Regions from separate parts of the Homo sapiens genome. Here region 1 is linked to region 2. The links are contacts of gene promoters, found by promoter capture Hi-C in human tissues and cell types (Jung and others, 2019). All regions are on one chromosome and are shown on one strand. The core of a region is centred on a gene start or on the middle of the fragment in contact, and the rest is flanking DNA. Distances in the headings are between cores, read along the strand shown.

Region 1 (5,670 bases), core at 205-2,704, 320 kb before region 2:
GGGCAGCTGCTATTGCTCTTACCTGCCAGGGCCAGCTGTAGGGGACCGCATCCTCACCATGGACAACGCGGCTGGAAGAGTGAGAGGAAGGTGGGCCATAGCCTGAGGCTAGAGGGGAGAGGAGAGCTGTCAATCAGCTGGAGGGTCCCCAAAAGCAAAGAGGAGGCCAGGGTCCCAGTCCAAGCCATGCCTTCAACTGGCTGTGTGACCCCATGCAAGCCCCTTTCGCCCTCTGGACCTCAGTAACCACATATGAACAGTGAACATTTAAACTAGAGCAGGGCTTTCCAGAATCCCAGGAGTCCAGGGATAGAGATTCAAATGTGGCCTCCTTCATTGGGAGGATTGAAGAGCTTGATACACTTAGAACAATGCCTGGCCCTCGATGAGCCCTCAAAAAGTGAGAGCTATTGTCATACAGAGTGGAGGCTTTAAAGAAGGACTTCCTGGGTTCAAAGTGCAGCTCTGGGCTGTGTGTGGTGGTTCACACCTGTAATCCTAGTGCTCTGAGAGGCCGAGGCGGGAGGATCGCTTGAGCCCGGGAGTTTGAGACCAGCCTGGGCAACATAGCAAGACCTCATCTCTAGAAAAATAAAGTACAATAAAATAAAGTAGCCAGGTATGGTGGCATGTGCCTATAATCTCAGCTACTCAGGAGGCTAAGGTGGTAGGATTGCTTGAGGCCAGGATTTTGAGACCAGTCTGGGCAACAAAGCAAGACCCCATCTCTACAAAAAAAAAGCAAAAAATAAAAACATTAAGTGCAGCTCTGCCTTTTGTTCTATGATAAGCTACTTTACTTCCTTGAGGGTCAGTAAAATGGGGGATAATGATAGTACTGATCTCCTGAGGCTGTTGTGAGAATTACATGAGAAAGTATAAGAAAATCCCTAAACATTCTGCCTGGCATAGTAAGCACTCAATCAATGTTATCTGTTACCATTATTGTCAGTCAAGGGAGGCTGTTTGGAAGAGGTGGCCCTGAGCTGGAATGTAATATGGCAGAGAGACCAGGAAAAGGCCAGAGCATAGAATATGGAGCCAGGTAGGGGGAGTGAGAGGAGAGTTGGAGTGGTAAGTAGAACTGTGGAAATTCCAACCCAAGAAGTCCAACCACACAGTCCAAACTCTTAACCGTTTGACTTTGTTTACTGCCCCCATCAAGGACTTCCACCACAGCCCTTTGGGGGTCTTTCACCATCCACAGCTTCCCCTCCACTCTCCTGCTCCATCATAAGCTGAAAGCCCCTACAGTCATGCCCCCGGGTACAAGCTGAGACCCCCTCCTGTGGAACCAGGCATAGCATGTCATGGGACTCAGAGCGAGTGGTAGATTTCAAGGATTCCTAGTCCAGGGCAGCCCAGGGAGCACACAGACAGGTTGGGGTCTTACCAACGGCCACAAGGAGGAGGGAACTGAGCAGCCGGAGCATCATGAGTTTTGTGATGATAGGAAAAGGGCACAGAGCCTGGGGCTCTAATATAGGGCAGAAGGTAAGCAGGGGGGCTGATTGGGCCCCACTCCCAGAACAGGTGGTGGAACTCCAGGTCTCCCATGGTCCAAGGCCACAGTCCTCGCCTGCTGCAGATGGACAAGTGACAGCCAAAGGGAGGACCTAGCGTTCCCTCCAACAGGTGGCTGGACAGGTGGTGTGGAGTGGCCAACTGATAACAAGAGTTCAGGAAGAAAAGCTCATGTCAGGACAAGACCTCCTCTTTCGGAAAGAACAGGGGCACTGGAACCGGGCAGACCACGGTTCAATCCTGGTTCTGCCACCTTCAAGCTCTGCGACTTTGGGCGCATGGCTTAACCTCTCTGAGTCTCAGTTTTCTGCTCTCTAACATGAGATTTATATTAGTACCCACCTCCACAAAAAAATTCTTGTTGAGCACTTTTTCTCTATGTATCAGGCACTGTTCTAGGGGATACAGCTGTGAAAAATGCATGGTCTCAGCCCTTCTAGAGTTTGAGTCTAGGCCAGGAGCGGTGGCTCACACCTGTGATCCCAGCGCTTTGGGAGGCCAAGGTGGGAGGATCACTTGAGGTCAGAAGTTCGAGACATGATGAAACCCTATCTCTACTAAAACTACAAAAATTAGCCAGGTGTGGTGGTGAGCACCTGTAATCCCAGCACCTGTAATCCTAGCTACTGGGAGGCTGAGGGAGGAGAATCACTTGAACCTGGGAGCGGAGAGGCAGAGGCTACAGAGAGCCGAGATCATGCCACTGCACTCCAGCCTGGGCCACAGAGCAACACTGTCTCAAAAAACAAAAACAAAACCAAAAAAAAAAACAGAGAAGAAAAGAAAATGAAACATAGGTGATTGGGGTAGGAATGGGAGTAAGTCATTTAGATGGGGGGGACAGAGAAAGTGACATTTGGGCTGAGGAGGTCATATCTGATGGAGTCCTGAGGATAAGTAAAAGCCAGCCACGGGAATCCCTGAAAGAAACGCGCTCTGAAGGGAGGCGACAGCAGGTGCGAAGTTCTGGAGGCTGCAATGGGCTTGACTTGTTCAAGGAAGGGGAGGCCAGTGTGACAGGAGCTTGGTAGTCAAAGTAGAGAGGGGTGGGAGATGAGGTCAAAGAGCAGGCGACCCCGAAAGTGGAATTCACAGGTGATCCAGCCGTTTCCCTCCTAGGTCTATACCGTGAGAAAACCTTAGGCATGTGCTCCAGGAGGTGTGGATGAGATTGTTTGCCGCAGCCCCTGTTCTCAAAACTCAACAGCAAAGACCTAGAAACAACTCCCACGTCCATCAAGGTTCATAGGTCAATATGTGTAGCATATTCACACAATAGATTTTTTTTTTTATAGTGGTGCGATCTTGGCTCACTGCAACCTCCACCTCACGGGTTCAAGCGATTCTCCTGCCTCAGCCTCCTGAGTAGCTGGGATTACAGGCGCGCACCACCACGCCCGGCTAATTTTTGTATTTTTAGTAGAGACGGGGTTTCACCATGTTGGCCAGGCTGGTCTCCAACTCCTGACCTCTGGTGATCCACCCACCTCGACCTCCCAAAGTACTGGGATTACAGGCATGAGCCACTGCATCCGGCCAGACGGGGCAATTTAAATAGATCCCTCCTGGGGGAAAGTCAGGCATCTTGCTGAGCAGGTTTTGTTTTAGGAGTGAACCCCCTCCAATCACAGCCTAGCCACTCTGATAGCCTGGGTTCGTGGAACGTGTGTGGACACAAGGGAAGCAGCTGTGAAAATCCTTTATACTGTGATAAAAATAGCCATGCCCTCCCCTACCCTCTGTTCCCTATGTGCCCGGACATGTTTGCTCAGCTTGAAAGCTCTGAGCCATTCCCCAGACCCTACGCCAGGGAAGAAGGAGGGAGGGGCCCAGGAGGTGGCTGGGGAGAGATAGGGTTAGGTCCGATAAGCCCAGATTCCACTGTAGAGTGTCTGAAACCCACAGGGCCTAAAACGCGATCTAATCCAACCACTTTTATTTGACAGAAGGGAAAATGATGGGCCAGGCACAGTGGCTCACGCCTGTAATCCCAACACTTTGGGAGGCCGAGGAGGGTGGACCACCTGAGGTCAGGAGTTCGAGACCAGCCTGACCAACATGGAGAAACCCCATCTCTACTAAAAACACAAAATTAGCCGGGTGTGGTGGCACATGCCTGTAATCCCAGCTACTAGGGAGGGTGAGGCAGGAAAATCGCTTGAACCTGGGAGGCGGAGTTTGCGGTGAGCCGAGATCGTGCCATTGCACTCCAGCCTGGGCAATAAGAGCAAAACTCTGTCACAAAAAAAAAAAAAAGAAGAAGAAAATGATGACCCAGAGAAAAGCCAGGACTTGGTCAAGTTTCCCTGGTTTGTTACTGCTTGGCCTGGTGAAGGGTAGCCCACGGACACGGGAGGGTCCACTCTCCCTCCCCCAACTTCAACCGAGAAGCCTTCCCGGCTTCTTACCCAGGTGACCTTGAGCAAGTCCCAGCCTCTCTGTCGGCTCTGCTGGGTCCCCAGGGAGAGGGGCTCCCTGACGCCAACTGTCCCACCACAACCCCTGCCTGATTGGTTACTTCAAGGCCTTATGGACTGACACTGGCAGTTGCACGGCTGATTAACTCTCCGAGGGTTTTCTGGCCTAGGAGTAGCTTGAGTGAAATCCCTGAAGATGAACCTCCTTCCAACACCTGCCCCGCAAGAGGGAAGATGGAGGGGTTAGATCTACTTTAGGCCTCAGCCTGAAGCAAAGCAAGCCATTTCCTGAATGGGAGGTGGAGGTTAGGTCGGAGAGTATGCAAAATTAGGAGGTCAGTCTGGGAAGGAGAGGGAGGGCGGGGAAGCTGGCGAGGGGACGGAGGGGAAGCTGGTGAGCCTTTTTCCCGGGACTGGGGGAGTTCCATTCTTTCCAGTTCCCACCCCACAGGAAGCTCTTTGAGGATCAAAACTTTATCTTATTCATCTTCCGATTCCCAGTACCTAGAAGGGAGCCTGGCACATGGTAGGTTTTCAACAGCATTTATTCAAGGAGACAACAAATGAATGAAGGAAGGGAAAGGACTCTTCAAATGCCCTCCGCTTCCTACCCTGAAAGCACGGTTGAGCCTGATATTCATGCAGGATGCACCTGGAGGGTGTCCCCTCTGTGTGGCCTGGAAAAGCGCAGCAGCATCTGGATGGTGTCCTGATGGGCACATTCTAGAGATATTAATAGATGTTTGATGATAAATGGACCCACTAGAACGGAGCCCCCATGGGGCGGGGGGTTTTGTGTGCTTTGTTCACTGCTGTGGCCTCGGCTCCCAGAATATAACCCAGTGGGCACTCAGTGAAGAACTAAAGGTCAGATGGGATTGGAAAATATGAGCTCAAACAAAGTTCAAATTGTCCTTTCCTACAGGACTTCTCAGAGCCTTTAATATGCCAGTGTTCACGGTGAATCACACACAGTGGTCCTAAGTCCGGGACTCTGGTGCCTTGTTGCCCTGTAGTTTCTGTGAAAATAAGATATTCAAAATCTAAGCTGTTGGAACTTTAAAATACCTTAGACTTAAGGGAATGAGATTATGGGACCTGAGTAATGTAAACAGGAAGGCATAACTTTTGTTTGTGTTATCGATTAGCTTTTCCTTAACTACATTGTTTTATAAAATGTTGTAAATGACTAAAGGGTGACAGGGCAGACTGTTTCCCTCTCAACAGTCAATCTTCATTATAGATTAACTTCCTTCTTTTCTCTCTCACACAAAGACTTCATGACTATCACATTATCTAAGATAGAATGTTAAATACACAAATTGGAAAGGAAAATAAAACAAAGTGTATGGAAAAGAAGACAAATTTTAACTAGCTATATTGTTGTAACTCATAAACCAGCCTGGTATAGAAATGTTATAGTCCTACTAAATTTGTTTCCTGCCTGTATGAGCAAGATCATAATTTTTTTTTTTTTTTGGAGACGAAGTCTCACTCTTGTCCCCCAGGCTGGAGTGCAATGGCTAGATCTCGGCTCACTGCCACCTTCGCCTCCCGGGTTCAAGTGATTCTTCTGCCCTCAGCCTCCCAGGTAGCTGGGATTACAGGCACCTGCCACCACACCAGGCTAATTTTTGGATTTTTAGTAGAGGCAGGGTTTCACCACATTGGCCAGGCTGTTCTCAAACTCCTAACCTCAGGTGATCCACCCACCTTGGCCTCCCAAAGT
Region 2 (5,787 bases), core at 2,140-4,639:
TTTTTTGAGATGGAGTCTCAAAAGGCTGAAGTGCAGTATGGCTCACTGCAACCTCCGCCTCTGGGCTTCAAGTGATTCTCCTGGCTCAGCCTCCTGAGTAGTAGCTGGGACTATAGGCATGCAACACCATGCCTGGCTAACTTTTGTATTTTTGGTAGAGACGGGGTTTCACTATATTCGCCAGGCTGGTCTCAAATTCCTGTCGTCAGGTGATCTGCCCATCTCGGCCTCCCGAAGTGTTTGGATTACAGATGTGAGCTATTGCACCTGGCCTTGTTTGTATTTTTTTTAAAGCTGGTTCATGTCCCAGGCACCCTTTAGTCAATCCCACCAGTGCCCACTGAACAGAGCTTTCAGACATCTTTTTTTTTTTTTTTCTGAGATGGAGTCTCACAGTTGCCCAAGCTGGAGTGCAGTGGCATGATCTTGGCTCACTACAATCTCCCCGTCCTGGGTTCAAGCGATTCTTCTGCCTCAGCCTCCCAAGTAGCTGGGACTACAGGCGCCTGCCACCATGCCCAGCTAATTTTTGTATTTTTAGTAGGGACAGAGTTTCACTATGTTGTCCAGGCTGCTCTGGAACTCGTGACCTCATGATCCGCCTGCCTCGGCCTCCCAGTGTGCTGAGATTACAGGCGTGAGCCACTACGCCTGGCCCACAAATCTTTTTAGTACCTCATACTTAAGTAAATATGAGCAGTCAGATAGTTGAGGAATGAGAGCCTGGGACCAAGATATGTCGAGGAAATAGCATAGGAAGCATAAGAAAGCTGGAAAATAACCTATAAATAATGGCAAAAAAAAAAAGCAAACAATAGGAAGAGGAACTATATAAAAGGAACATTTGGAGCATAGAAGAGAGTTCATGGAAATGTAAAAAATGATGGTACCCTGGGTTTGATATAGTAAGTAAAAAACTAAGGGTAAGAGGGTCATGAAAGCATCTAGAAGTAGGAGGGAAAGCCAGTCAAATTCACAGGATGAAGTCAGGAAGATAATAGAGCAGTGCCCGCAAGATCCTGAGGGAAAGCAAGTTCCAATCTATAAGTCTGTAACCCTCACACCTGATGGCCCCTTGAACATATTCAGGGCTTCAAAAGATTGATCTGTCATGCACCGTCTGCCATGATACTGTGTGAGGATGTGTTCTTCTTCTTAAACATTAAATCAAGAAAGAATCAACAGTGGACCCAGTAAATAGCAGATCAGCCTAGGATAAGATGCCCTAGAAGATGGTGAAGGGAAGTCTCAGAACTACTGTTCTTCAGCAGGCAGCGAAGACACCTGATCCATATTGGAGTGGTGGGATGCGAGCTTCAGGAAGGGATGCCACAAGGAAAAGTGGAAGGGATGATGACTGTCTTCAAGAGGTTACAGGTCTTTAAGAATTTACACGTGAATTGGAGATAAATACAGAGAAAATGAAACACATCAGTAATTCAGTAGTTACCAAGCCCAGAAAGACCAAGTCATACCATGTAGTAAATATAACCAAGGTGCACCAAGGCATTCAACTGTGACTAGTATTAATGGCGTAAAAAGTAATGCCAGCGCTGGAGACTGGCTTAACAACAACAAACACCACTTCATCAGGAGGATGGGTCGGGGCAGGTGCTATGTAAGTGGTAAAACAGCTGTTTGTATCCTTCACTGAAGAATTTATTAGATTTTTATCTAAAATTATGAAGTAGGCCAGGCACGATGGCCCACTCCTGTAATCCCATCACTTTGGGAGGCTGTGGCGGGCGGATCACTTGAGGTCAAGAGTTCGAGACGAGCCTGGCCAACGTGGTGAAACCCTGTCTCTACTACAAATACAAAAATTAGCCAAGTGTGGTGGTGGGTGCCTGTAATCCCAGCTACTTGGGAAGCTGAGGCAGGAGAATTGCTTGAACCCAGGAAGCAGAGGTTGCAGTGAGCCGAGATCATGCCACTGCACTCCATTCTGGGTGACAGAGCTGGACACCCTCTCAAAAAAAAAAAGTAAATAAAATTATGAAAAGCATGTTATTTAGAAATAGGCTAAATACCAGAAGAAGCTGCTGTGTGAGTCAAAAGTGACTCCTTCCAGAACTTGGGAATGGGAGGAGGAAGGGGAGAGAGACAGCTCCAGAGGAGTCAGTTACATGGCTTCCTCCCAGGCCACTCCTAGAGTCGTGCACTAGGTGTGCCCTAGTTACAAACCTTGTCCTGTCAGTATTTGACTTTTTAAATGATGCATACGTATTGCTTTGATAAAAACAGAAACAAAGATTGTTCTGAAATTAGTAACATCCGTAACTTCAAAGATGATTATTACAGGTGACAAAGGTAATCAAAAGTTATTTTAAACTTTTGTCTTTAAGCATTGAAATGATATTACTGTCTGTCACGACAATCTTTTCAATTTGGAATTCTTCTTTTTTTCTTTTTTTCAGTTTGTATGCCAGAAGAAGGGTTTAAAGGTAAGTTACATTTGTCATGTTTTGTTCATGAATGTCAGAGTCATCCTGTAATTTTCTGTTAAAGCGAAGGCTATAATTTGATTTTAAATTTTAATCCAATCTGAGTCTCATGACTGAAATTAATTTTAGTTAAATGCATTTCTTACTCAAGCTTCTTCATTATCTTTTTCAACACTCAGGCCTCAAATGGGGCCTCAGCTGGGGCTTTTGTGTTAGAACTGTTTCTTGCCAGATGTCCATTTGGCCTTCCCTTTCTCATTTTATGGGAGGTTGGGAAATTAGCTAGTGGCATTTCAAGATTTATTTTTAACCTTTTCCCAGTTCTTCCTATCAAGTCCCCTCCTAGAGCAAAACAGTGTGTAACTATTAAGAATTAGTGGCACAAGAATTTGTCAGGTTTTATCAAGTCCAGTGAAAAGATTTAATTAATCACTTAGCATTAAGGCATTTGTTGGATTATTACTTCAAGAGGAGACACGGTGGTGCTCGTACTACATCTGGGCCATGTAGTTGTGCACACCGATAATATTCAAGAAGTCATCAAATACAGACCTCTGACGTTTTCGGATTTTCCTGTTGCTGTCTTGATTCTTTGCTGGCCACTCCAGAAGCCCCTGGCAGGTTGTGATTTTCTAAGGAATGACTTTGAATCACATACCAGCTATTCCTTGCTAAAGCAAATGAGAGACAAATCTACTGGCCAAAATAAAGTCTTCCTCTTGCTGCAGCTGTGTTGTCTGCATGCTACCATTACAAAGGGACTCCTGATGGGGTCAAAACAAAGCAAAAAACGTCTTTATGAAAAATGGTCATTGGCCGGGCATGGTGGCTCACGCCTGTAATCCCAGCACTTTTGGAGGTTGAGACGGGTGGGTCACTTGAGGTCAGGAGTTCGAGACCAGTCTGGCCAACATGGTGAAACCCCATCTCTACTAAAAATACAAAAATTAGCCGGGCATGGTGGCGTGCGCCTGTAATCTCAGCTACTTGGGAGGCTGAGGCAGGAGAATGCTTGAACCTGGGAGATAAGGTTGCAGTGAGCCAGGATTGCACCACTGCACTCCAGCCTGGGCGACAAGAGTGAAACTCTCAGAAAAGAAGAATGGTCATTAAATGAAAGAATCAATAAAATCTGGTTAGTTTGTGTGAAGATACACTTAGGAAGCACATGGCTTTCAACAAAAATGTGATTTAGCGGAGAGCCTGGAGTCTGCTGGTATTTTGTCTTATCCTCCCACACCAAGGTGCGACTGTGTTCATTTATTAAATTTGATGCTCCCTGTTGATGATGTGTTCTTGGTAAATGGAATCCATGAACTTTTAATCTGTAGTTCACAACTATCCCTCCACGTGTGTTTCTTTTCCCAGGTACTGGTCTTCTTGGACATTAATCTTTGAATACTTGCTGACTGCTAAGAAATGACCAGAGGGGAAGAGGAGTTTGACATGTTAGGGCATTAAAGCAAAGGTGGATTTAAGAATTAAACCATTACATGCCCCTTCCAAAAGGCAGAAATCCATTCAAACGTGACTGTCCCAAATGCCTTATGTCAAATAAAGCAGATTGCACTGATGGACATCAGACTTGAAGGAAATGTTTCCAATTTTATATTTAAGGGGGGTGGTGGGTGGGAGGGGGCAAGTAAAGACGGAACAAGTTTAGTAGCAGTAATAGTAAATCATGTTTACATATGAGATTTATAGTCGTGGGAGGGGAATAAAGTTCTGTTATATTTCCTTGCTCGAGTTTCATACCAGATGCGTTGGTCCATAAAGGATTGTATCAAGTAGATGGGACAACATTCTGCTCTGAACGAAAAGTAATTTTAGAGACATAACCTGCTTACCAATGCCTGTCTTTGATTCATATTCTACTTTCAATAAAGCATGAAAGTGAAGAACTTGTCCTAAGTGTGGAAAAGTGTCTTCAGATTTAGACTCTTCTCCATGTCAGCTGCAGCGCCACCCGCCTTACACCTGCCCGGCCGTCTGTCTCTTGGTATTGGGTAAAGGAGGGGGCACCTGCATGTCTCCTGCAATGAGCAAGGAATTATGTCTCATGTTTTGACTTCAGAGGCTTTTTGCTTTGGTGCATTTCAGAAAGGATGGAGAACATTTATTATGTGTGAAAGCATCCTCTTCCGGTTTTGCTGTTATTCAAAAGTGGGAAATGTACCTGGCACGTTTGAAAATAAAAAATCTGACTACCTATCAGAAGAGTAAATCAGACTGAAGTACATTTGGATAACACAAGGTTTCTATAAAATTTGTTCTTCCTGTCCTCCATGTCACTGTTTCTTGGACCTCAGTTCTCTTTTTGAAAGCATTATTCCAAAATGCCCTGAGAGGGTCTCTTAGATCATTGTTTAAAAAAGGAAAAAAGTATATGGATGTGCTGTCCATCCAACTCAGGATTATCATTCTTAGCAACACGTAACCGAAGCAATATTCTTAAGAATATTGAAGGGGTTTTTTTAATTGAACTTAAGACTGGAGTTTTTCCTTTGAAAAAAAAAAAAAAGTTTTCTCTGTTGAGTCCGTCTGTGTAAGTTTGTGGCTGAGATGCTAGCTTAGGCATCTCTCTTGTTAACACTTTTCTTGGCCTTGGGTTTGTGCAAGGCTTTTTCCCCCTTTCATGAAAATGTGAACTCAGATCATGGATGGGGAAGGCAGATTTTGATTTGAGACCCGATAACCTTGGCAGCATCCCTTTTGAATAGCTCCTTTTGTCAGAGTAATTACGGCCATTTGGTAAAATTCTAACTTCGTGTTTGTGTTTCCCCTCTGTGTTTCTAATGTCTTCAGTCTGTGTCCCCTGAGGAGGCAGGGGGTCTCTAATGAGCCTATCTATGGGGGAAGGTGAGAGCTGCACACAGCCCCCTGAGAAACCATCCTAGGAGTGGAACCAAGGGACCAACTGTTCTGGCCTTGAGGTTGGCACAGGGGAAGGACTTGAAGTTGAGCTGATGGATCCTGATTTTTAGATCTCATTGTTTTATTAGCTCCAAAGAAATGAATGCAGGAGCCTAAAACTAATAACACAAACTTCTTCTTTCCCAAGGTAAAGACTTTTATAAAAGTTCGCACAATGCTTGATTGAAGCCACTTCCTTTTCCTTACAAAGAAGCTTGTTGGCCAGAGAAGGTTCTTTTTGGGGATTGACATAAACATGTTAGCAGCCCCCAGAAATCTGATATATTTTCCCCAATTTGCTGTTGATAACAGTTTTGAAATTTGTTACTTGGGTATTTTTTCCTCCTGCAATGCTACGAAATAACAGCCTTTTGTAAATCTTTCAGGCTGGTGGTACCTGCTCTGAGTACTGGCTTCTTTATTATCTCTG

What was found. The method cuts DNA at HindIII sites, captures the fragments that hold promoters and counts their contacts. A contact is called where the count stands out against the background at its distance.
Region 1: the fragment with the promoter of CELA3A here is called in contact with a fragment that was not itself captured in region 2 in 2 of the 25 tissues and cell types used here (spleen and thymus).

The regions. Positions count from the first base shown.
Region 1 is chr1:21,997,441-22,003,110 of GRCh38, reverse strand. CELA3A (chymotrypsin like elastase 3A) reads right to left here and starts at 1,454. Exons shown (of 8, transcript NM_005747.5): 1 at 1,394-1,454; 2 at 23-108. The coding sequence starts at 1,436. It also overlaps a transcript of CELA3B not described here. The HindIII fragment of the contact is 21,174 bases long and covers 1-5,670 here.
Region 2 is chr1:21,677,465-21,683,251 of GRCh38, reverse strand. It overlaps USP48 (ubiquitin specific peptidase 48), which reads left to right. Exons shown (of 27, transcript NM_032236.8): 26 at 2,418-2,444; 27 at 3,813-4,954. The coding sequence ends at 3,835. Among named protein-coding and RNA genes, the nearest start is that of RAP1GAP, 11 kb to the right of the region's middle. The HindIII fragment of the contact is 5,470 bases long and covers 655-5,787 here.